Regions from separate parts of the Homo sapiens genome. Here all the other regions are linked to region 4. Evidence: promoter capture Hi-C in 16 types of primary human blood cells and fetal thymus (Javierre and others, 2016). All regions are on one chromosome and are shown on one strand. The core of a region is centred on a gene start or on the middle of the fragment in contact, and the rest is flanking DNA. Distances in the headings are between cores, read along the strand shown.

Region 1 (4,482 bases), core at 1,195-3,694, 1.1 Mb before region 4:
TGCTGTCCCTGGGAGCCCCTCTCATCAGGCAGGTATTGGCTTGTCAGTGGCAGGATGGGGCGGGGGCGGGGGCAGTGATGATGAGGCTCTGCAGGCTTCAAATGGGGGTGCTGGGCCAGGGCTCCGGGGCCAAGCTTGGAAGGATGCTCATCATGCCTGGCTGGGCAGGAGACCTGGAAACATCTCCCAACCTGCCGGAACTCCGCCTGGGATAACACAGCTTTTCCACCTGGGCCAGAATCAACTGCTGCTAGAGTTTTTTACAGGCAGCTCCCCAGGAAGTTTCTGGCAAGATGGCAGCTTCCAGGGCAGGGGCTCCTGATTTGAGGCAAATGGTACAGCCTGATCTGCTCCGAAAGGGATGACAGGGCTGATCGTTAACCTCTGTGCTCCATCCCATATGCCAGCGTCTCAGAATAAATAAATGAATTTTTAAAAGTCTGGTATAAGTAGAATACCCAAATCTGGGCCTAAATTCATTCATTCATTCCCTTTCTTATTTCAATAAATTTATTTAGAAAGAAAAGTCTATCTTGGAGGAACCAGCACCCATTGCCATAAACCTGGGTCTCTCAACCTTGGCATTACTGCCGCGTGGGCAGGATCATTCTTCGATGGGGGACTGTGCTGTGTATCACAGGGTGTTCACAGGCCTCTGTCCATGAGATGCAAGTAGCACCTACCCCAGTTGTGACAATCAAAAATATCTCCAGACACTGCCAAATGTCCCCCTAGGGGGCAAAACTGCCCCTAGGTGAGAACCCCTGCCATACTTAGATGGCAACAGTATAAAGGCAATGACATTGTGGTTACATTCTTGCTTGCCAAGGCCTCTGCGCTTCCCCTTACATTGGGAGTAGGTCTCCTTGAAGACCATAAAGGAGGAGTTCACGCGATTCCCTCCTTGATGACCCAGAGGCTTGGAGGAGAGCAGAAAAGGAAAAGGGGAAAAAGGAAAAGTTAAAGGTTTTTACGTTGGAAATGGCATTTCCAATGTAGTCCAGGCCCTACCCCGTCTCTTATCCTGAATCTAGGCCACTTCACTCACTCAGGTCTCCTGCCCGACCCTCCTCCTGCCATGACCTGCTTATGATGAGATCAACGCCACTTACGCCCTGTGCGTGGACGGCTAAGATGAAGACTACACCTTGATCCAGTCAATGGGACCTGGTTGGTGGAGGCCACCGGTCTGGCACAAGACTTGGCAATGCAAGAAGTCTGGATGTTGTCTGGTGACCTTTGGAGAGAGATATGTTTGCAGTGGCCTTTGTCTAAAGCAGGGACAAATATGCAAATGCATCCAAGGGTCGGGCAGGAGACCTGAGTGAGTAAAGTGGCCTAGATTTAGGATAGAGATGGGGTGGCGCCTGGACTACACCGGAAACACCATTTCCAAAGTAAAAACTTTCAACCTATTTTAAGCACTGAGCGGGCTCCATAAAGCCCCGCTGGAGCTTGGCCTGGGAGCTATGTGCGACTCTTCCAAGCTATCCAATCTTTCCTGAGCACCTACTATGTGCCACATGCTAAGAAACAGCAGTGGCCACAAGGCAGGCCAGGCCTCTGTCCTCATGGAGCTGTGATACCTTGGTGGAGGAGAAAATGAATGAATGAAGATTGTCTTAAGAGCTTTGGAGGAAGCTGTCAGGTGATAGGATGGACAGTAAATTGGGAAAGGCCTCTCTGGCATGAGGAGGTGGCATAAGGAAATGGCATCTGAGCTGAGAGCAGAGGCGGGCGAGAAGCCAGTTGTGGGCAAAATGCTTTCTATGAACGGAGGAAGTAAGTGCAAAGGCCCTGGGGTGGGAATGTGCACAATGAAACCAACATGGTGCAGCCGAGCACGGCAGTGTGGCCCACAGGAGGCTGGACACCCCTTTGCCCCAGCCCATGCCTTCTGGGCAGGCCACACCCGCTGTCCTTTCTGGCTGTTTAGAGGAAGTAGAAATCAGATACAGAAATTCCCACCTCTGTTCTTTGTTCCTTTGTCTCAGCTGTGGACAAAAGCTTCCCTGGCAGGGAGTTACAAAGTTATTTCTGCAAAAGGCCTTTGGCCAAAAGCAATAAAGTCCGACTTGAACAGAGTCATTATTCACGCCTAACTGTGGGCTGGTTCTCAGTGTAGACTGCCACAGTGGGGACTGACAATTCCACCTTTTTAACCCCCTCCTCCTTTTCAGCCCCACATTTTCTTAGCCCTGCTTACCCCCACAGAACATGTATTTATGTTTCCAGAGATTGTCGTTTCCTTCCAGAAGAATATAAAAGGAATAAAAGGTATTTTGACGGCTTGGTATTAATAATCCAATTACTTCTTTCCTTTTCACCCAATCCACAGGCGAGCGTGCCGTCCTCAGCCAGCTTGCCCCTGCTATTAGCAGATGAGCTGTTCATTAGTTCACCTTGGAAACAGCCCGACACTTACAATTATTTTAGAAGCTGGGGGAAGGAGTCAGAATCAACTTTTACCAAATCACCTGCTACATTTGGAGATGCGAGTGGAGTGCCTTTGGAACGACAGGTCGGCTTCCCAATGTGGCTTGCTGTGCAATCTAATTAGCAGCCGGAAATAGACCGGCAAGTGGGAGGAAAGCCCGGGTCAGAGGCTCTGCGAGCTGAGATTAGTCTGGATCAGTTTTTCCTACTAGCAGCCTCCCCTGCTGCGGGGACTCACTGGGTGTCACCAGGTGTTGGGGTGGAAGGCAGTGTCACTGGTGAGGCGGGGTCTGGGAGGAGGGAGTGCAGGCATTGAGCCCAGGTCCCTCATTACCGCGCATGCTCTCCTTTCAGGAGCCAGAAGCAAACTGCCCCTATCTTCTGGAGGGGGATATTGAGGCATGGCAGGGGTTCTAGGAGTTGACTTTGCCCCGTAAAGTGGAGAGAAGCTTCCAGACCCCCAGCAGCACCTGAGCTATGGGGCCCTGGAGCTGGAGAAGCTGCCACACAGGTTTGGGCATTCTACTTATACTGGACTTTCAAAGTCCATTCACTCGTTTTAAAATGTTCATTGCTCTGCCAGGGGTGGAGTCACCTATGCAGGGGCGGTGCAGAGATTTCTAACAATTTTTGTCCATCTGGTCCCCTTCTTTTGACAGCACCCCAGCTTCCTTTTGAGGACTCCCTCCCCTCTGCCAAGATGCCCCCATCCTCTCTGCCAAGGGGTGATCATGTGACCAAGGTCAATCAGACTTTCTTACCATGTCCCCAACTGTCAAATAAAGTGTCAAGGGCAGAAAGAAAAAGCAGGGGTGCATTTGTCGCATTGGGATGGAAACTCTCCTTCAGGAGGCTGCTAGTAACTCCTGCGCCAAGGTCCCCAGAATTTCCTCAGTTCCTGACCTGTCCTTTCCTGAGCCCCCCAGTAAATCCTGTTCCAGCTTGAGGTAGTAAGTGTTGGGCTCTGCTACTTGCAGTCTGTGATGAATGGGTACTTTGGTGGACTCCAAAAAGCCACACTGCCTGGTATTCAAACCCTTGTGTGGGCCCCACCTCATGAAACCGGGCTGGCTTTGGGACCTGTTTTGACCAAGAGAAGGTGGCAGAAGTGATGCTGTGCCGGTTTTGCGGTTAAGCCTTAAGAGACCGTGGCAGCTTTCATTTTTGCACTCTTAGAAGTCAGGCTACCCTGAACCTGCCATACTGCGAGGAAGCCCAAGTAGCCATAGGGCAGAGCCCACATGGAGAATAACTGAGCTCCCATCTGGTGACCAGCAAGAGCTGCCAGCCATTTGAATGGGGTTGTTTTAGACCTGCCAGCTGATATCACATGAAGCTGAAGAACCACCTGGTCAAACCACAGAATCGTCCAAAATAAAATGTTGTTACCTTAAACCACTGAGTTTGGAGTGGTTTGTTATACAGCAGAAACACAACCCAAGAATCCTCAGTGACACTGATCAGAGCCCATTCCCCCAACAGAAATGTCACAAATGACTATGAGGTTAAGACTTTCAGCCTCTTCGGCTAATGAACACTTGGAGGAGAACATCATTCATTCATTCCTTTAGTCATTCATTCAAACAGCCAGTAAGCCTAGCACAGATGGTACAAAGATGAACAAGCTTCAGGACCTCCTGTTCTAGTGAGGGCATCACACACAGTGCCTCAGTTTCCTTACTGATAAAGTGAAGATGATATTAGTCCCTGCTTCAAAGGCTTGCTGTGATGATGAAATGCTGGGCAAAAAGTAATCAATAGATATTAGACATTATTATTACTACACACTTGCAATGCACAATGTAAGTGTCCAGGGACACTTGCAATGTCCCTGGAAGTGTAGCCATTGGGTACAAAGTGTCACAACGGGAGACAAACTCAAATGCCTACGTGGGCCAGGCAGATAATGTAAACGGGTGAAGTGGACGCATAAGAAAACTCCACACCCCACTTCCTCTCCAGCTCTCATCTGGCCACTTTTGGTAGAGATGGAACAGAGAAATATTGCTCCACAATGAGAAAAACAGAAGGGAAAGTGCAATGAAA
Region 2 (5,032 bases), core at 2,253-4,752, 1.3 Mb before region 4:
CTGGGCTTCAAATTCTTCCAGCTGTGGAGTCATTTGCAGGTTGTGGAGCAGGACAAGTCTGTTGCAGCCAGGCCAGGTGCCAATTCCAACAGGCGCATGTGTCATCTCTGGCACAAAAATCACAGGTCACCAAACCCTGATTTGAGTTTAAAGGAAGAGGCATGAATAAGGCAACTCTGGGTTGTAAAGCTCAGGCTGCTCTTTATCTCCAAAAATTTGTCTTAAATATGATTCTTCTCAGGGGTGTTTTTCCCCTCTTTTAAGCAAAACAAGAAGTCAAGTACTTGTTTACCCTAAATTGCATTTTTTGATCTCTCTCTTCTGCTCTCTCTTTCCCCCTCAGTTGTGTGTCCTTCCCAGGGAGAAAAGTGGTTCAGAGTACAGCCTGGGGGTGGAGCTTGGGGCTGTGCCAGCTCATTTTCAGATTAGGTATTTCGTAACAGAGTTTTAGGCATGTGCAGGGTTTAGGCTTCTACCCAAGGAATCTATTTTCACTTGCAGGGAAATTTCACACTGTAATTACTATCATGAAGCAAAATATGGTGTGGGGTGAGGGAGGAGAACATTGTTACTAACCCTTGGATATTAACCCCTACGAAGCAAGTTTGGAACTGCCATACATTATCATTATTAACATTTGAGTGCTCTGTGCTTGACACTGTGTTTAGAGCTTTCACTATGCTGTTCTATTTAATCCTGATAATACCCTATGACATAAGCATTATTGTTGTTGCTATTATTATCATTATCAGTGTTCTCACTTTAGGAAATGGAGGCACAGAAAGTTCAAATAACCAGCCACTATCACACAGCTTTGTAAGTAGCAGAACCAGCTTAGCAGGTTAGGCAGTGAGTGTCAAAGCCCACATTTTCTTTTTTCTCTTTTTGGACTCCAGGGTGGAGTGTAATCACCTTGACTTCCCTGGCTCTAGTGAGCCTCCTGCCTCAGCCTCCCAGTAGCTGGGACTAAAGGTGCATGCCATCATACTTGGCTAATTTATGTATGTTTGTATGTATTTGTTTATTTTTGAGACCGTGAGCCCCACGATCTTGGCTCACTGCAGCCTTAACCTCCTTGGCTCAGGTGATCCTCCCACCTCAGCTTCTTGAGTAGCTGGGAGGCTACAGGCGCATGCCACCACACTTGGCTAATTTTTTTTTTTTTTTGGTATAGGCAGGGTTTTGCCATGTTGCCCAGGCTGGTCTCAAACTCCTGAGATCAAGTCATCTGCCCACCTGGCCCTCCCAAAGTGCTGGGATTACAGGCAGAGCCACTGCGCCTGGCCATAATTTTTCTAATTTTGTAGAGACAGGGGTCTCACCTTGTTGCCCAGGCTGGTCTTGAACTCCTGGAAAGTCCACACTCTTAACCATTAGGGTATCTGGCTATATCTCACACAATGAAAGAGGGAAGAATGTGGGAGATAGCAGTAGGGACAGAAACTGAGGCACGAAAATGACTTGAGCCCAAAAGGTCCAGGCTGCAGTGAGCCGTGAGCATGCCACTGCACTACAGCCTGGGTAGCAGAGTGAAACCCTGTCTCAAAAAAAAAAAAAAAAAAAAAAAATCAGTCGGGCACGGTGTCTCACTTTTGTAATCCCGGCACTTTCAGAGGCTGAGGCGGGCGGATTTTAAGACCAGCCTGGCCAACATGGTGAAACCCCATTTCTACTAAAAACAAAATTTGCCTGGCGTGGTGGTGCACGCCTGTAATCCCAACTACTCAGGAGGCTGAGGCAAGAGAATCGCTTGAACCCAGGAGGCAGAGGTTGCAGTGAGCCGAGATTGTGCCATTACACTCCAGCCTGGGTGACAGAGTGAGATTCCATCTCAAAAAATAAAAACAAAGGCCGGGCAAGGTGGCTCATGTCTGTAATCCCAGCACTTTGGGAGGCCGAGGCGGGTGGATCACAAGGTCAGGAGTTCAAGACCAGCATGGCCAACATAGTGAAACCCTGTCTCTACTAAAAATACAAAAAATTAGCTGGGCCTGGTGGCAGGTGCCTGTAATCCCAACTACTCGGGAGGCTGAGGCAGGAGAATCGCTTAAATCTGGGGGGCAGAGGTTGCAGTGAGCAGAGATCGCGCCACTGCACCCCAGCCTAGATGACAGTGTGAGACTTCACCTGAAAACAAACAAACAAAAAAACCCCAAACAAACCTGTGTACCCTAAACCTAAACGTACTAATTGATCACATTTTGCCATATTTGCTCATCTGTACTCTCTCTCCCTGTGTGTGTGCATTTTTTCTCCCTAAATCATTTGAGAGCAAGTTGCAAGCAGGCTAGTTACCATTGTTACCGGTCTGGAGTTCCTTTCATATAAAACATGTGACCCAAGCTAGATCAATTGAACAGATTACTCTTCGGAATTTGAATCTTGGAATAGGGTAATGAGAGGACAGGATAAAATGAGTGGTCTTTTCTAGATCTACTGCTGGTCTCAGATAAGATGTTCAAGTATGGCCAGGCGCAGTGGCTTACACCTGTAATCCCAGCACTTTGGGAGGCCAAGGCAGGTGGATCACCTGAGGTCAGGAGTTCAAGACCAGCCTGGCCAAAGTGGTAAAATCCTGTCTCTATTAACAAAAATTAGCCAGGTGTGGTGGCACATGCCTGTAATCCCAGCTACTTGGGAGGTGAGGCAGGAGAATTGCTTGAACCTGGGAGGCGGAGGTTGCTGTGAGCCATGATTGTGCAATTGCACTCCAGCCTGGACCACAAGAACAAAACTCCATCTCCAAAAAAAAAAAAAAAGGAAAAAGAAAAAGATGTTCAAGTATCTTCAAGTATCTTCTCTTCCCTTGCTTTCTTTTTCTTTATTTAAATCTTTTTTTCTTTTTTTATTTATTCACTTTTACTTTTCTTCTTTTCTTCCCTTTGTTTCTGACATTTCCGACCTGGCCCTCCAGACTTCCCATTGATTCTTTGAGTTCCTGGATATCATTTTGCTACATTTCAAAGTCTATTGCTGTTGCTTGCAACCCAAGAATCCTAACTGGCACAGCTGCCCTTGAGGAAGTTCACAGGGCAGCATGTAAGTAGAGGCTTCATGCACTCAGAAATATTTGTAGGCAGGATCTCTTCATTTTTGGAGGGCTTGTTCTAGTTGACCTTCTAATCGTATCCTCAGAGAATTTGTGCCTTTGGGTCCCCTAGGTCAAGCCAATTTTATTGAGGAATAATTTCAGAATTTGAAATTATTCTTCCTACCTATTAAAAGTTCTCAGCCACAGTTCAACAAAACTTCACACTTACATAGTATTTCAATAATCCATTGCTGCATAGTAAATCACTGTAAAGATTAGTGGCTGAAAGAACAACATCTTTATTATCTCCCATGATTCTCTTGGTTGATTAGGTTTGGTGGGATGGTTCTTCTGTTCCAGTTCTTTTTTTTAAAAAATTATTTAATTATGATTTAGTTTTTTTTCTTTTTTTTTTTTTTTTGAGACTGAGTCTCGCTCTGTTGCCCAGGCTGGAATGCAATGGCGCGATCTTGGCTCACTGCAAGCTCTGCCTCCTGGGTTCAAGCGATTCTCCTGCCTCAGCCTCCCGAGTAGCTGGGATTACAGGTGTGTGCTACCATACCCAGCTAATTTTGTATTTTTAGTAGAGACAGGGTTTCACCATGTTGGTCAGGCTGGTCGCGAACTCCTGACCTCAAATGATCCACCTGCCTTGGCCTCCCAAAGTGCTGGGATTACAGGCATGAGCCACTGCGCCTGGCCATTTATTTTTATTTTTAAAAACTACCTATTTTCCTTTTTTATAACTTTTTTTTCACAATGTTCTGGTCAACACTATAGTCACCTGGGGCCTCTAAGGACTGAAATGTATGAGAAGGCTCATTTGCATGGCTGACAGTTACTGCAGGCTCTTGCCTGGAATCTCAGCTGGGGCTGCCAAGTGGAGTGCTTCAGTTTTTACTTCATGTAGCCTCTCCATGTGGCTTAGGCTTCCCATAATCTGGCAGCTGGGTTCCATGAGGAAGAAAGTGTAAGCTGCCAATCATCTTTATTTTATTTTATTTTATTTTATTTTATTTTATTGAGACAGAATCTCACTCTGTCGCCTGGGCTGGAGTGCAGTGGCACAATCTTGGCTCACTGCAACCTCCGCCTCCCAGGTTCAAGCGATTCTCCTTCCTCAGCCTCCAGAGTAGCTGGGTTTACAGGCATGTGCCACGGCGCCTGGCTAATTTTTGTACTTTTAGTAGAGACGCGGTTTCACCATGTTGGCCAGGCTGGTCTCGAACTCCTGACCTCAGGTGATCCACCTGCCTCAGCCTCCCAAAGTGCTGGGATTACAGGCATGAGCCACCCCAATCATCTTAAAGCCTAGACTTGAAAGTCCCATGACATCACTTCCACTATTTCCATTGGTCAAACAGTTACAGAGTCAACTCCAGTTCAAGGAAGAGGAAATAAAGCCTACCTTTCGATGTAGGAGTGGCCTGTGCAAACAGCAGGAAAGAATGATAGTGGGCACCTACACAGACTATCTTGTAGAGTGTGTCACTCATTTGGCTTAGATTTTGAGTCTAGAGCAGTGTTTCCACATGTCACTCACTACAAGATCACCTACAGGTTCCATCAAACTCTGCCAATGTTTGCCAGGCGCAGTGGCACACGCCTGTAAATCCCAGCATGTTGAGAGGCCAAGGAGGTTGGATTACTTGAGGTCAGGAATACAAGACCAGCTTGGCCAACATGGTAACACCCCATCTCTACTAAAAATACAAAAATTAGCCAAGTGTGGTGGCACGTGCCTGTAATCCCAGCTACTCGGGAGGCTGAGGCAGAGGAAGCCCTTGAACTCAGGAGGCGGAGATTGCAGTGAGCTGAGATCACACCACTACACCCCAGCCGGGGCAACAGAGCAAGGCTCTGTCTCAAAAAAATTCAGCTGAGCCAGAAGTTTGAGGTTACAGTGAGCCATGATTGTGCCACTGCATTTCAACATGGAGAAACCCCGTCCCTACTAAAAATGCAAAAAATTAGCTGGGCATGGTGGCATGTGCCTGTAAT
Region 3 (4,895 bases), core at 467-2,966, 1.2 Mb before region 4:
CTTTGACAGGCAGGGCAGGGACACACCTCCGGCACCCCTTGGGCCAGCCAAGGCAGAGTTTCCATCCCACTCCCCTCCCTGCCCTGCCCCGCCCCCGACCCTCCTCTCCAAGCCTGCCCTGGCTTTCCAGCCTCAGAAAAGCCTCCTTCAGGCTTTCCCAAACATGTCAGTTTCTGGCTATCTCTGATACTTCCCAGATAATTTTCTTTTTTCTTATGTTTTTAGAGACAGGGTCTTATTCTGTCACCCAAGCTGGAGTGCAGTGGCGCAATCATAGCTCACTGCAGCCTCCAACACGTGGGCTCAAGCCATCCTCCCGCCTCAGCTCTGGAGTAGCTGGGACCTCAGGCATGAGCCACGGACTGTTCCTGGCCATAATTTCCTTAATATTTCTCTTGCAATCAATTCACTTTTTAAAACCTTACCTATATTTATTTTAAAAAGCCATGTCTTATTACTCCTATAAAAGGAAAACCAGTCACAAAGAGGATACTGTCAAAGTGAATATGGTGAAAATAAAATAATTTAACTCCTGCTGGGGCCTTCGTGCAAGAGAGATCGGCAAGGGCTAGAGAGGCGCTAAGGGCATACACACACCCACGGGACACTTGGCCTCTGACACGGTCAGGGTCCAAAGGCTGCTGAGAAATGAATCACTTATTGTGAGCATCATCCTGCACCACCAAACAGCATCTTGGGCACCACACGGCAGCAAAGGACTACCCGTTGGGAGGCCCTGGCCCTGCTGGCTCAGCGGCTCTCAGAGCCTCGCAGGTCAGGGCCGGCTGCAGTCAGGAGGGGGAGCCGTTGGGAGGGAAGGGAGCCTTCTTACCTGTCCCAGCTGCTCACACGCCGTCTGGTACTCAGCACGCTGACACAGGTCCTTCACACGCTGGTACTTGGGCAGAAAGTTCTCCTCCTGGGCGTCCACCTTGTCATTGTCTCTCTTGTGTAGCAGCTTGCTATGGGGCAGAGAGCAGGAGCCGCGGGGCCGGCCTCTCAGCTCTGGAGGAGCCCCGGAGGCATGTGTGCCCACCTAGAGGGGTGCCCCCTCGGCTCCGGCTTTTCCTCACAGTGGAGGGCGCAGGGCCACCTGCCCGGGTCTTCTGATGTTTAGGAAACTTAAGACATTGGAATTTTATAAGAAACTTCCCAAATTGCATGAGTTGGCAATAAATTAAATAAATTGAAGACATTGTAGAGGCTGGACAAAGCATGCCAAAAGCGTACACGTGACCTCAGACCCCAATTCTGTGTCTATAGGAGCAGTGAATGGGCTTTGTGTTTAGGGGCCTTTGGACCAACTTCAGAGCCATGGGCAGCTCCTGAATAGCATGATGCGGTGGGGCTACAGAAGCTTCCTGGGCAGAGGGAGGGAGGTGGGCAGGGGTGTCCCTCCCAGGACCCGGCACTCACCCTCTCTCCACCAAGAAGGAGTCCCGCCAGACCCTCATCTTCTTTTTCAAGTGAAACCTGGAAAAAAGCACGGCTCCTGCTTCTCAGCAACATGAGGGCTTCCCACGACCCCCCGTTCCCCCAGGAGCAGGGACGGCACCAGGAGTCAGCCTTGGTTTACGGTCAGCCTGGACAGCAATTGTGGTGAGTGTGCCCAGCTGGGCACTAGAGCATTGCCCACCCTCCTCTGAGTTGAGCCACCCCTTCCCCAGAGACTTGGGTCTGGAGACACACACAGTAGAAATGACCCAGGTCAAAATCACTGTAAGTCCCACCCAAGTAACTGTGTGTGTGTGTGTGTGTGTGTGTGTGTGCGCGCACACACATCTCAAGCCCCTCCCAGGAAGCCCAGCAACTCCCCCGGCACTAGACGAGCTCTATCTCGAGTTCAGCGTCAGGCGCAGTGGTTCAGCATCAGGCGCAGTGGTTTGGCGTCTTGAGCTCTGTCTTGAGCTCAGTGTCAGGCGCAGTGGTTGCCTTGATGTCAGGTTAATTGCATTGGGTTTTGGGAGTATTTTCTTCTTTGGTGCTTTGCAGTTGCATGTATGTAATTTGTATGTTTCATCCAGTGCCACCTGGTCATTTCCATTTCCTAGATGGGGACTCTGAAGCTGAGAGGGGAAGCTTCCACCCTGTCCCCTGACCCCCAGGTGTCCTGGCTCCCAGGCCAGTGTCCCCAAACATGTCCATTTTATACCATTACAGCTTGCCTGGCCTCACAGTCAGGGGAGGAGCCTCAATGGACACGGTCCCCCTACAGGGCAGCCAGATGTGGGCACACAGTGCTCGCCTGGCTGGAGCCTCTGGGAGGCCACAGGGGAAGGGCTCCGCTGCCAGAGGTGCAAGCCAGGAGTTGAAGTAGCACCTGGAGGCCAGGAACCTGGTGGCTGTTAAGAGCGCTGGCCACCAGATGTCGCTGCGGCCACACCAGCCTCCCCGCCCTGACTCAGCCCACCTCCCACCTGTCTGACTTGCTCACCCTCACGGTTCCTATTCTGCCTCTCTGGACACCTAGGAATATGTTCCCATCACACCCTCCAGCATTAAAGTTATGGGGCGTGGTGAGTCAGCATCTGAATTCCCAGAGCTACATCCAGACTTGCTGGGATACCTCCGACACGTCACTCAATCGCTTTGGGATTCAGATTCCAAACTGGTAAAATGGGGATGATGATAATGTCCACCTCGCTGGGTTACTGTGAGGATCAAATTCCTAGATTTCCCTGCACAGTACTTAGAATAGGGCCTCACACACAAGCGCCGTGCAGTTAGCACCATCTCCTACCATCACTGCTGCTATCATTTCAAGCTTTGGGTAATTTTAGCTCAGAGAAGGTCCCCAACTGGTCACCTTGGCCACATTCCAGATGGGAAGACAGAATCTCGGAGAGGGGACCATGCTTCTCTCCCACAGCAGGTAAGTGGTTGGCATGGCGGGACCTGAGAACCCCAGCTCCCGACCCTTGGAGACCCCACGTTCTAGACCCACAGGGTTTTGCTCTGAGTTCCCGCAGGTCAATGTCCCGGCCCCCTCAACACCTGCCCTGCTCCGTCCTCACCGATTCACCGGCCGCTCCGTGTCCAGCAGCTTGAGGATGGATTTCCCGTCCATATCCGCAGGTATGTCCAGGCCTGCAATGTCCAGGATGGTGGGGGCCAGGTCAATGTTGAGGACGATGTGGGGATTCCTGGGGGAGGCAGGAGATCGGGGACTCAGTCACTCAGGTGGTGGTGCCTCAGCCTCGCGTGGGGGGTGGGGAGCGGTAGGTGGGCAGCAGTTTGTGGGAGGCTGACATCTGCAGGTATGGAAGCTGCAGTCTGGCACCTCAACCTCAGCAGCTCCCCTCTGCGGCCCAGATTCAGCTGAACCCCCACTCTGTGCTCGCCCCCCCTTAGTTTCTGTGTCTCAGCTCATGCCGTGAGCTGACAGCCTCACCCTGTCCCCCTCCTGCCCTTCCTGTCCCCACTTCCTGAGTGAAGGCGACCCCCCCTTTACAGCCAGCCCAAATCCTGGCCCTTCCTGAACCCTTCCCCTGAACCTCTGGGGCAGACACTGGCTCCTCGCTGTTCCTTGACAGCCCAGGCACAGTGCAGCCTCAGGGCCTTCTTCTTTACCATCCTCTCTGCCTGGAATGTCCTTTCCCTGGAGATCAGGGGCCACCGTCCCTCACCCCTTTAGTTCTTTGCTCTATGACCAAGGAGGCCCGTGACAGGCCTCAGTGGTCCCCAGAATCCCTGTCCCTGGTGATCACACCTTAATGTGACCCCCTCACCTTGGGTGTGGACCAACCTGCACCTGCTGCCAACCAGTGGGTTGTGAAGGTGATGGGCTGTCACTCCCGTGGTTGTGTTATGAGATAGTCAACTACTATCCTGCTAGCAGTCTGGCTCTGGTTTCTTTCTCCCCTTGCTGGCTTTGAAGAAGCAAGCCACTCTAAATCAGCAGCTAGACTGTGAGCAGTCTGGGAGGCAGACTGCATGGGTTCAAGTCCTCTGCTTGCACTTGACCTGCCCCATGAGCAGGGACGCAGATGCTCCCCAGTCAAGCCTCTGGATGAGACCACAGCCCTGGCCGGCACCTTGATTTCAGCCTAAGCAGACGACCCTGCAGGGCTAGGCCCAGGCTTCTGACCCTCAGACACTGTGAGTTTGTACATGTGTGTTGTCTTAAGCTGCTGAGTTTGTGGCAGTTTGTTCTGCAGCACAGATACCCAACACAAGGCCCCTCCTGAGGACCCTATTCGGAACTGCGCCCCCTCCCCACCCTCCCTGCTTTATCTTTCTCCTGAAGACTTATCACCATCTCATATGCTATATAATTTACTTATTTCTCTGGCTTATTGTCTATTGCCCAGTTAGACTCTAAGCTGCAGGAAGGCTGGCTCAGGTGGTCACTTCTGTATCTCCAGGACTTATACCCTTAGAACACAGAGGAGCTACTCAGTAAATATTGGCTAAGTGAATTCCCATACATCTGCCACCTTTCCTGGCTCCTGTTTCTTTTTTTGAGAGGTGTCTTGCTCTGTCACCCAGGATGCAGTGTGGTGGCATGATCCTGGCTCACTGCAACCTCCACCTCCTGGGTTCAAGCGATTCTCATGCCTCAGCCTCCCGAGTAGCTGGGATTACAGGCATGCGCCATCACACCCATAATTTTTGTACTTTTAGTAGAGGTGGGGTTTCACCATGTTGGCCAGGCTACTCTTGAACTCCTGACCTCAGGTGATACATCCGCCTCAGCCTCCCAAAGTGCTGGGATTACAGGCATGAGCCACCTCTCCTGGCTCTTGTTTCTGGCTGATGGCATTCCCAATGTAGGGTAAGGGACTTAAGGGGTGTGCCCAGCACAGGACCCAGGACCTGTTGAATGGTGGACAGTCCCGTCAGAGCATCTGAGTGCCTTCCCCGCTAGTTCCCTGGGGACCAGGGCAGGGCCTGGG
Region 4 (4,832 bases), core at 2,180-4,679:
CTGCCAGACACTGTTCTAAGTGCTTTACATCAATTTCTATAACTCACTTATCTTCTTTAAAAACCTATAAAATAGGACCTATTAACATCCCTCTTTTTACAAATAAGGCTCAAACAGGTTAAGGTGTTTGCCCAAGGTCACAAGTCCAAGGATTTAACCTCAAGCAGTCTGGCTCCAGAGCCTTGCACTTGGATTGTTTTTTTTAAACACCCATTTGGCCATCCTCCACTACACCGTCCTCTCCTTGAGGACAGAAGCCACACATGGCCCCTATCACGGGGGTTACTTTCCACGGTTTCCATGGGCCGATGGGACCTTCACACCAAGGACACACGGAGACCAGGGTGGTCCTTTAAGGCCTGCCTCTAACCACATGGAAATAAAAGCAGGGAGGGATTACCGTGCATTCTTCCAAGCCAGGAGACAGCAGGGAAAATCCCTTAGCAAATATAAAGGCTGAGAAGAGAGAGTGGGAAGACAGAAGAGAATCACAACCTGAGGCTGCCAGCCTTGCAACCATGGAAAGCCTTGGTAATTAGCAGTTCCTGAAGCTCTAAGCCCCAGGTTAGTTTTGAAAACGAAAATGCCTTGGGATGTTTAGGGGCCATTCCTGACGGGCCAAGATGAGAGAGGACTCCTGTGGCTCACAAACAACGTATGGCTGGTCAGGTTACACAATCCGTCTGTTTCTGGCACCAGCTTGGGGACACACAAAAGGCCCAGGCAGAAAGGAAGCCCGGATTCCCCGCTCCTTGTTTCACAGGTGGGGAAACTGAGGTCAGGACACGTAGCATGATTGGTCCAAGACACATGTCCAAGTCAGAACCAATTCATCTCAGAACTGACACATCAGATACAAAAAGAAAAATGTGATGAAGTCAGCAAATGTAAAGTGTTAAGGAGATAATGTGAAAGTAGAGAAATCTTTTTTTTTCCTGTTTCTTGAATAATAAGAATGGTTGGCTCCAATCAATTTCCATTATTCCAGCTTCCTCCTACTCTACACGTGGACGATTTAAAACCACAGTTAACTCAAACACAATCTAGATCTGTTCTAAAATGAAACACACCATCTAGGGCAGGGGCGTGGGAGGGAGAGGTATATTTTCTTTCCCATTAATATCAAAATTGGTTTGTATTTCCTGTTTCTCTTCCAAGCAGAGGAGCATGGAGTGGCTCAGAAGGAGAAGTCAGGAGTTCCCTAGAATTTGACATTGCTCAGAGACACCAGGGTTGTCTACATGTTTAATTCAAAAACTGCCAGCTTCTAACAGAACAAATTCTTCCCCCACCCCCCACCCCCGAAACTGTGAGAGAAGAAGGGATGGGAAAGAAAGCCAATCCTGCCTTATTCTTACAGGCCTTCCTAGAAGGGTCCTTTAGCCAAATGGTTTTCAATGCTTCTGCACAACCCCCTCTCCCACATCCCCCTGCCCCCAGTACATCTCCTTTCACAGGCAGAAGGGCTCTAGTCTAAGGCTGTCTCCTCCCTGAGCTGGAACTCTGATCTCACACAGCCTCAGCTGCACCCCTAAGCCATGAGGAGCCCCAGAGGACCCCAGAGTCTCCCTCTTTCTCCCAAAGACTAGGAGCTACAAAGCCTGGCTCTAGGGTCTTTGAAAGAGCCACCCCCACACCAGCCCTTCCTGAACCAGGATTAAAAGACTTCCTAGAGCAGAGAAGGGGAGTAAATGAGGCCCCAGCAGGAGGCATGGAGATTAAAGACTTTAGAGTCTCCTAACTTCCATCCAAGGCTCTGCCCCGTCCCACCCCCTCCACCCGCTGGCCACTTTTCTCACTTCCTAGGAGAGTAGGGAAGTGGCCCCTTCCTCCCTCTCACAGAAAAAAAGCAAAAGAAAAATGCAGCATAGAATAGGGGTTTAGAACACCAGCTGGGATAGTCCCGGTTCAAAGCCCAGTACCCCCACTTAATCAGCTGTGCGATCCCAGACAAGCTACCCGGCCCCTCTGGAGCTAAACTTTCCCAATCTTAAAAACGGAGGAGGCAGGACCCAGTAGCTCACGCCTGTAATCCCTGCACTTTGGAGGCCGAGGTCGGCGGATCACTTGAGGCCAGGAGTCCAAGACCAGCATGGCCAACATGGTGAAATCCCCTCTCTGATAAAAATACAAAAATTAGTCGGCCGTGGTGGCTGGCGCGTGCCTGTAATCCCAGCTACTCGGGAGGCTGAGGCAAGAGAATTGCTTGAACCCGGGAGGCGGAGGTTGCAGTGAACCGAGATTGCGCCACTGTACTCCAGCCTGGGTGACTGAGGGAGACTCCGTCTCAAAAAAAAATTTTTTTAATTAAAAATGGGGGAAATACTCGTCCCTACTTCATAGACCGCCTGTGAAGGTTAAACCTGCTAATTAATGACACATGTAAGGTGTCTGGCACATAGTAAGTGGTCGGTTGTTATTTTACAAAGTCTGAGGCCGTGGTTTTGCACTTGGAGATGGGGAGTTGGTGGGGGTGGATGCAGTTAGGGAGCCTGGACTGCCGAGTTTTGAGTTCGAAACCCACTCTCCCCGAACTCCAGCAAAAACCTGTGCATGGGGGATTCTACCCTGGGGTTCTGTCAATCCCCGCCCCTCCTCTGAGCTTCAGGTTTTATCCTACTCCATCAACGCGCAGGGACGTTGGGCTCTGGGGCTCCTACGGTATGTCCTAGATGAGTGGTGCACCGGGCGCGTAGTTATTCCTGGGAAAAAGACGCAGGAGCGCCAGCTCCCGGCGCCGCCGGGGTCCCCAAGCCCCTGCATCGCGGATGTAACTAATTTTAAAACTATTTGAAAGGCGGGGACGGGGAAGAAAAGACAAAAGGGCAGCGCGCGCCGCGGGGAAGTGGAGTGCGGGAGAGCCCCGGTCGGAGCAGGACCGTGCGCCGGCCAGGGAGGGAGGCGACGCGACAGCTCTGGAGGAGCTCGGATCCCCCCCGCTTTCCGCGCGCCCTGCGGGGCGCCCCCGAGGCAATTCTCCACCCACGGGGACCACGGCCACAGGTTGTGGGGACCGCAGCGGGGCGAGCGGCTGGAGGGAAAGCTGTCCCCAAGCTCCCGAGCGACACTCACCGACTGCAAGAAGCGCAAGGTGCCCACGTAGTCCCTCTCGGTGCCCAAGATCTCGTTGAGGACGCAGAGGCGGAGGCGCAGCTGGCGCTCGGACTCCCGGGCGGCCGCGCACGGGCCGGGGCCGGAGCTGGGCGCCGCGGCGCCAGGGGCCCGGGGGTCCGGGTGGGCGCAGTCCCCGGCCCCGTCGCCGCCGGGCTCGCTGCCGCTGGGCGCCTCCATTCTAGCGCGGCCGCGCGGCGCCGGCTCCTTCCGTCGCGCCGAGCGGCAACTCAGGCGTCCAGGCGCCCCATCCCGGACGGGGCGCGCCGGCGGGCCGGGCTCAGCGGCGGGCCGGGCTCCCGGCGCGGCGGGCGGGACTGGGGGCCGGGCGGCTGGGCCGGGGGCGGAGGCAGCGCGCGGGGGCCGGGCGAGGGGCGGGAGGGGGCGGCCCTCGGGGCTCCCAGACGGCTGGCCCCCCGCCCCCGCGCCAGGGACCGTCTGCCAAGTGCCACGCCGCGCTCGGCCGCAGAGGCGCTCTGCGCGTGCACGGGGCCCCTGGGGACGCGGCGCGGCGCTCGGCGCCTCCGTCGGAAGCTCGGGGGTCGGGCGGGAGCCTCCGGAAGGGCCCCGCGGAGCCGGGAGTCCGAGGCCGCGCGCACGCCGAACCGAGCGTACCAACTCCGCGCCCGGACGCGTGGCGCCCCCCCAACCCGCAGTCACCGCGGGCTACGCCACTCCCACCCGGCACACGCGACACCCGCCGCGCGCAGGCTCCTGCTTGCAGGTCCGGCCGCTGCTCGGGCCAAGTAAACACCGGGCTGGGAAAGCTCGCTGCGGAGCCGCTCGGGGGCAAGCCAGCCCCGCCACGCGCGCCTCCGCGGCCCCGGGAAGTCAGGGGCGACCGCTGCCTGGGCAGTGACGGCCCCTCTCTGGGCAGTGACGGCCCCTCCCGGGAACGCCGGGCCCTCGCGGTGCCCTCGGTGCTACCACGACCTTGGGAAGGAACATGCGTGGCGCGCGCTCGCTCTCACTTTTCTCTTTCCCGTTTCCTTTCCCATCTCTCTCTTTCCTTCCTTCCTTTTCTTTCTGAACTTCTTTGCCCCCTGACCCTGCCCTTTCCACCTTTCCCAGAAGAAATTATTACCTGCTCTTGAGTTATTGATCAAGTGGCAGGTACCCTGCCTGCTCCCCCTTCCATCCACCCACCCCATGGGATAAGGCCTTGGGAAACCCAGCTTCTTGTCAGGTTGCTCTGGGCAATGTTGATCATCACCCGCCTTATCGGAAGGTATGGAGAGGGGAGGAAGTTCTGGGGCCTAGAGTCAGCTGCTCAGGTTCAAATCCTAGCTCCCCACTTGCTGGCCGGGTGGCCTTGGGCTGGTTTCCTTGCTTCAAGATCCTCAGTGTTTTCATCAGTATAACGGGAACGATCATGGTACCTAGCTCCAAGGTCCTCCCCGGGGTTCCATGGGAAGTACTTAGCACCTAGAAAGTTCTCTGTAAATGTTTGTTCTTACTATTATTGCATGTGTGAAGCCCAACACCTAGAAAGTTCTCTGTAAATGTTTGTTCTTACTATTATTGCATGTGTGAACGGCCCTCTAAGCCTGGCCCCACTCTCAAATGGCCCATACAATCCCTAATCACCCGTGTTTCCGGACCAGAGATTGTATCGTCTCTGCAGGGGATAAAGTGATCCACATAGTATCCGCCTCTAGACTGTAGTCATTTTATGGACAGAAACATTGCTTATTTATTCCTGTTCCAAAAGCCTAGGATTT
Region 5 (4,769 bases), core at 138-2,637, 1.1 Mb before region 4:
TTAGTGGAGACGGGGTTTCACCATGTTGGCCAGGCTGGCCTCGAACTCCTGACCTAAAGTGATCCACCCGCCTCAGTCTCCCAAAGTACTGGGATTACAGGTGTGAGCCACTGCGCCTGGCCGGGCGCAACATCTTAACACATCCTATGTCCCAGCAATCCTTCTTTGGGTGTATAACCAAAAGAAATGGGTGCATATGTCCACTAAAAGCCATGGACAAAGATGTTCACGGCAGCTTAGTTTATAATAGACCCAAACTGGAGACAACCAAAATGTCCATGAGTTGTTGAATGAATAAATAATACAGATCTCACAGACATTGCGCTGGGTGAAAAAAGGCAGATGCAGAAGAGAACAGACTATACGATTCCATTTAGGTGAAGTTCTAGAATAGGCAAAAATAATCCACGCTGTCAGAAGTCAGAGTAGACGTCATCCCCAGGGTGGGGGGTCATGACTGGAGAGGGGTCTCAGGGAGTCTTCTGGAAGTGCTCTATGTCTTGATCGGAGCCGCGGTGAAATGGATGCACGCATATGTGGAAGAGATGCGCGGTGAAACAGATGCACACGTATGTGAAAATTCATCCAGCGGTCCACTTAAGATCTGTGCATGTTACCTCATGTCAATTCATCTTATGTTAAAAACAGAAAAAACTACGACTGAGGATCAACCACTGCTGCAGGTGCTCAGGCAGCACCCACTCACTCCGAACATGCACACGCCCTGTGCTCAGCAACGCTGCTGTGAGGAACGGGTATAACAGAAATGAGCCTCTATGCTCACCAGGAGCTAGGTTCTAGACAGTGCTCAGCAGCGCTATTTGTAATAACCCCAAACTGGAAATACCTAAATGCCCAATAAAAGTAGAAGAAATAAACAAATTGTGGTATAAGCGCATGATGGAATGCTGGGCAGCAAGAATGAACTCAACATAATACTAAGCAGGAGAAGCCAGATGCAGAGTGAATCTGTAACGCTAAGAGTCTGAATCATCGTTATCCTCGCGGGAGGGGTGTCGAGTCGGGGGAATTCCGTGAGGGGACTGCTGCGGGCGGTGGTGACATTCTCTTCTTGGCCTACCCGGGTGCTCATTACACATGTCCGTTCAGTGTGCGGCAAGCCTTTGAATGGTACACTCTGTGTATGTACTTTCTGTAAGAATATTCTGTCTCGGCAAAATGTTAAAAAACCAAACTCTTGGAAACAGACACTATTTTTTGAGAAATGAATACATTTTTCTTTTCTTTTTTAAAGACAGAGTCTTGCTCCGTCACCTAGGCCGAAGAGCAGTGGGAAGATCCTGGCTCACTGCAGCCTCAAACTCCCGGGCTTAAGCAATCCTCCCATTTCAGCCTCTCTAGTAGCTGGGTCCACAGGCATGTGCCACCACACCCGGCTAAGTTTTGTATTTTTTTCGTACAGACAGGGTCTCGTCATGTTGCCCAGGCTGGTCTTGAACTCCTGGACTCAAGTGATTCACCTGCCTTAGCCTCCCAAAGTGCTGGGATTACAGGCGTGAGCCACTGTCCCTGGCTGAGAGATGAAAAACTGAGGAGGAGGTGTATGTAAAATGCTCAAGGTCACACTTTTAAGTGCCTGAGTCACAATCTGAACCCAAGTAGTCTGGCTCCTGAGTTGGGCCTCTAACTGCTGGGCCACACAGCCACTCCCAGGCTGGAAAGGTTGCAGCTTACCTTGGAGTAGTCGGAGCCGTGCTTCTCTTTCACCCCGTTCCGACACAGCGTGTAGTTATAAAAGCGGGAGTTTTTAAGGAGTCCGACCCACTCCTTCCAGCCGGGTGGCACGTAGGAGCCGTTGTATTCATTAAGATACTTCCCGAAGAAAGCTGCGGAGGGAGATGGATCAGGAGGCCACGTGAGAAAGTGCCTGACGATGTTTATTAAACTATTGTGTGTCCGAGGCCTGAGCATGCACACCTGCTCTGCCATGGAGCCCTCTGGCACACAGAGCAATGGATCCCTTCTCCAATGTTATTACGTGCATTGAATACAAGATATAGGATTACAGAGAAAATCAATTGTTTGGAAATACGGTTATCAAAATACTAAACACATTTGCGATACAGTGTGTCTTTTATTTTTTATTTTTGAGATGGAGTCTTGCTCTGTTACCCAGGCTGGAGTGCAATGGTACGATCTTGGCTCATTGCAACCTCTGCCTCCCAGGTTTCAAGCAATTCTCCTGCCTCAGCCTCCCGAGTAATCCTCAGCTGGGATTACAGGCGTCTGCCACCATGCCTGGCTAATTTTTTGTATTTTTAGTAGAGACAGGGTTTCACCATGTTGGCCGGGCTGGTCTTGAACTCCTGACCAAAGTGTTGGGATTACAGGCGTGAGCCACCATACCTGGCCTACTGTGTCTTTTAAAACCTTGTAGAGAGCGATCATTTCAGAATAGTTATGAGTGAAAATATTATATTTTGCAGTATCTGCAAAAACTGCAATGGGATATTAAATACTGGTGATTTCTACAGATGACAAAGCTACAGATTCTGCCAACATACTGTGGTTTATGGCTTATGCTCATATTGGAAGCAAATGCTAAGTCTCAGCTGTAGGTTAGTGAAAACCAGAGTGTCACTTTTTTTCCCATTGAAGTTTGTGGATCCCTTGGATTCTGTCTGCTATACAGCAACCAGAATGGCTAACATTAAAGAAATGGGCAACACCTAGTATGGGTGGGGATGTGGGACAACTTGAGCCCTCACACACTGAGTGGCTGCCCCAACCGGTCCAACCACGGTGGGGAACTCTTTGGCTGTGTCTGCTAAATTTGAATGCATTGGTAACTTCTACCCAACAATTTAAATCTTGGGTATTTACCCAACAGAAAAGTATTCATACACTCACCTAAACTCAGGTACAAGACATGACAGCACATTTGTAATAGTAAATAGGTAGAAACAAATGAAATGTTTATCAACAAAAGGATGGGTAAAGAAATTGTTGCATATTTACAGAACGGAAGGCTACATTGAAACTTGAACGAAAGACCTAGTGCTACATTCAAGAACAGGGATGCATCTCAACAACCTAAGAATGTTAAGAGAGATAAACCAGATACAAAAGAATACATGCCATATGACGTCATCTATGTGAAATTTGAGAACAGGCCAAACTAATCTATGATGTTAGAATAAAAACAGTGGGTATCCTGGAGACTGGGGGAGGGTGGCTGGGAGCAGCAAGGGGAGTTTCTCGGGTGATGATCTTGTTCTATTTCTTGCTGGAGCAGGTGGTTCAGTTGGTGACACCTCATTGGCCTGGAGATTTGGGAGCCATGCACTTTTCCACATGCACGCTTTACATCAACAACAAAGCTTAAAGAAAATCACCCTAATTCATCAGGAAGGGGATGTGCCTAAAAGCTCTGTGATAAGGAGACAGACAAGACCTCTTCATGATCCTCTTCTGTTTTTATTTTGCATGTACATTTTTTTTTTCTTTGAGACACGTCACACTCTGCCACCCAGGCTGGAGTGTAGTGGCACCATCACGGCTCACTGCAGCCTCAACCTCCCAGGCTCAAGTGATCCTCCCACCTCATCCTCCCGAGTAGCTGGGACTACAGGCGCATGCCACCATGCCTGGCTTATTTTTGTAGTTTTTGTAGAGAAGGGGTCTCGCCATGCTGCACAGGCTGTTCTTGAACTCCTGAGCTCAAGCGATCTGCCTGCCTCAGCCTCCCAAGGTGCTGAGATGACAGGCGAGAGCCACCGTGTCTGGCTTGCATGTATAATTTTTAATAATTATAATCTATAAAGCCATATTTAAGAAATGGGAAAATTTGAGTCTAGAGACAGCAATCCTATTCTAGTCGTCTCTTTCTAGATGAGGACACTGCGGTTCTGAAATTTCTGACGAGTATTGCTGAGAGCACAGAATATGAGCGTTCCAGGAGGTTGTAGGGATGTAAGGAGATCTTGCTAACAGACAGCTCAGCGCTGGGCCTTGTGCACGTGAGTGCTTGGCCGAGAAGCCAGGATGAAGAGAGAAAGGCCAGGGAGGTGAACCCCCAGAGGAAGGAGGAGAGTGGGTGGGATGGGGCTCTGGTGCCCCTAGAGGAGAGGACAACCTATCCACCAGTGTCCTTGGAGAAAGCACAGAGCCACCTGGCCCTGGGGGAGCTGTGATGGAGCTGGCTCCCTCTGCAGCGGTTTTCCTGGTGACCTGGCAGATGGCTGACACTTTCCAGGAGTGGGAAAACCCCTTAGGAACCCAAGCGGCTGGATTCTGAAACCCCCAAAATACAAGGCAAAGGGGAGCACTTCATTAAATGACTTGCCCATCATGCAGGGCCGGGAGGTGACCGCTCCAGAGGGAGGAGCTGATGAAACACCTCCTGTAAGGGTCTGGGTACACAGGGGAGGTGAAAATAGGAAGGGAGGATCCCCCAGCAGCCTCAGGGGTAAGGTCCGGGATGGAACCTCCCTTTGTGTGGGAGGATGGAGCAAAAATAAACGGGAAGAACCTGGCGTTCTGCAGAGGAGGAGGCGGGGAACCGGCTGCAGTCTCTGAGTCTGAGTCATATCCAGTTTTCACAGAGTGAAATGTAATTAGGTGGTGGGTGCCTAATTAAACAGCGACTGGGCGTCCCTGGCTAGGTGTCAGGGAGTAACTGATGGAGTGGAGGCAGCATGAGATTCCCGGGCAAGCTAAAGGCCTGCACTTCTCTTTCTCTGGGACCTGGAATGTTGGAGATGCCTCAATGCATCCAGCTCCTCAAAGCAGTGGCTCTTGGCCAGAAA

Evidence for each region. Contacts are between HindIII fragments. The CHiCAGO score rates a contact against its expected background, and 5 or more counts as called.
Region 1: a contact is called between a fragment that was not itself captured here and the fragment with the promoter of PREX1 in region 4, in 1 of 17 cell types (M0 macrophages). The highest score is 5.4, in M0 macrophages.
Region 2: a fragment that was not itself captured here is called in contact with the fragment with the promoter of PREX1 in region 4 in 1 of 17 cell types (naive CD8 T cells); the score reaches 5.4 in naive CD8 T cells.
Region 3: a contact is called between a fragment that was not itself captured here and the fragment with the promoter of PREX1 in region 4, in 1 of 17 cell types (naive CD8 T cells). The highest score is 5.2, in naive CD8 T cells.
Region 5: a fragment that was not itself captured here is called in contact with the fragment with the promoter of PREX1 in region 4 in 1 of 17 cell types (naive CD4 T cells); the score reaches 5.6 in naive CD4 T cells.

The regions. Positions count from the first base shown.
Region 1 is chr20:47,771,650-47,776,131 of GRCh38, forward strand. All of the region lies in intron 1 of SULF2 (sulfatase 2), which reads right to left. LOC124904922 (a long non-coding RNA gene) reads left to right here and starts at 2,441. Exons shown (of 3, transcript XR_007067620.1): 1 at 2,441-2,521; 2 at 2,791-2,947; 3 at 3,096-4,482. The HindIII fragment of the contact is 878 bases long and covers 2,006-2,883 here.
Region 2 is chr20:47,493,215-47,498,246 of GRCh38, forward strand. No RefSeq gene overlaps it. Among named protein-coding and RNA genes, the nearest start is that of NCOA3, 6.2 kb to the right of the region's middle. The HindIII fragment of the contact is 9,001 bases long and covers 1-5,032 here.
Region 3 is chr20:47,675,662-47,680,556 of GRCh38, forward strand. It overlaps SULF2 (sulfatase 2), which reads right to left. Exons shown (of 21, transcript NM_001387048.1): 8 at 3,015-3,143; 9 at 1,417-1,473; 10 at 833-962. Among named protein-coding and RNA genes, the nearest start is that of SULF2, 110 kb to the right of the region's middle. RefSeq lists an enhancer at 3,126-3,626. The HindIII fragment of the contact is 722 bases long and covers 1,356-2,077 here.
Region 4 is chr20:48,824,570-48,829,401 of GRCh38, forward strand. It overlaps PREX1 (phosphatidylinositol-3,4,5-trisphosphate dependent Rac exchange factor 1), which reads right to left and starts at 3,430. Exons shown (of 40, transcript NM_020820.4): 1 at 3,073-3,430. The coding sequence starts at 3,291. RefSeq lists silencers at 2,924-2,993, 3,404-4,083. The HindIII fragment of the contact is 7,694 bases long and covers 1-4,832 here.
Region 5 is chr20:47,700,824-47,705,592 of GRCh38, forward strand. SULF2 (sulfatase 2) reads right to left here. Exons shown (of 21, transcript NM_001387048.1): 4 at 1,696-1,847. Among named protein-coding and RNA genes, the nearest start is that of SULF2, 82 kb to the right of the region's middle. RefSeq lists an enhancer at 891-950. The HindIII fragment of the contact is 3,903 bases long and covers 1-3,339 here.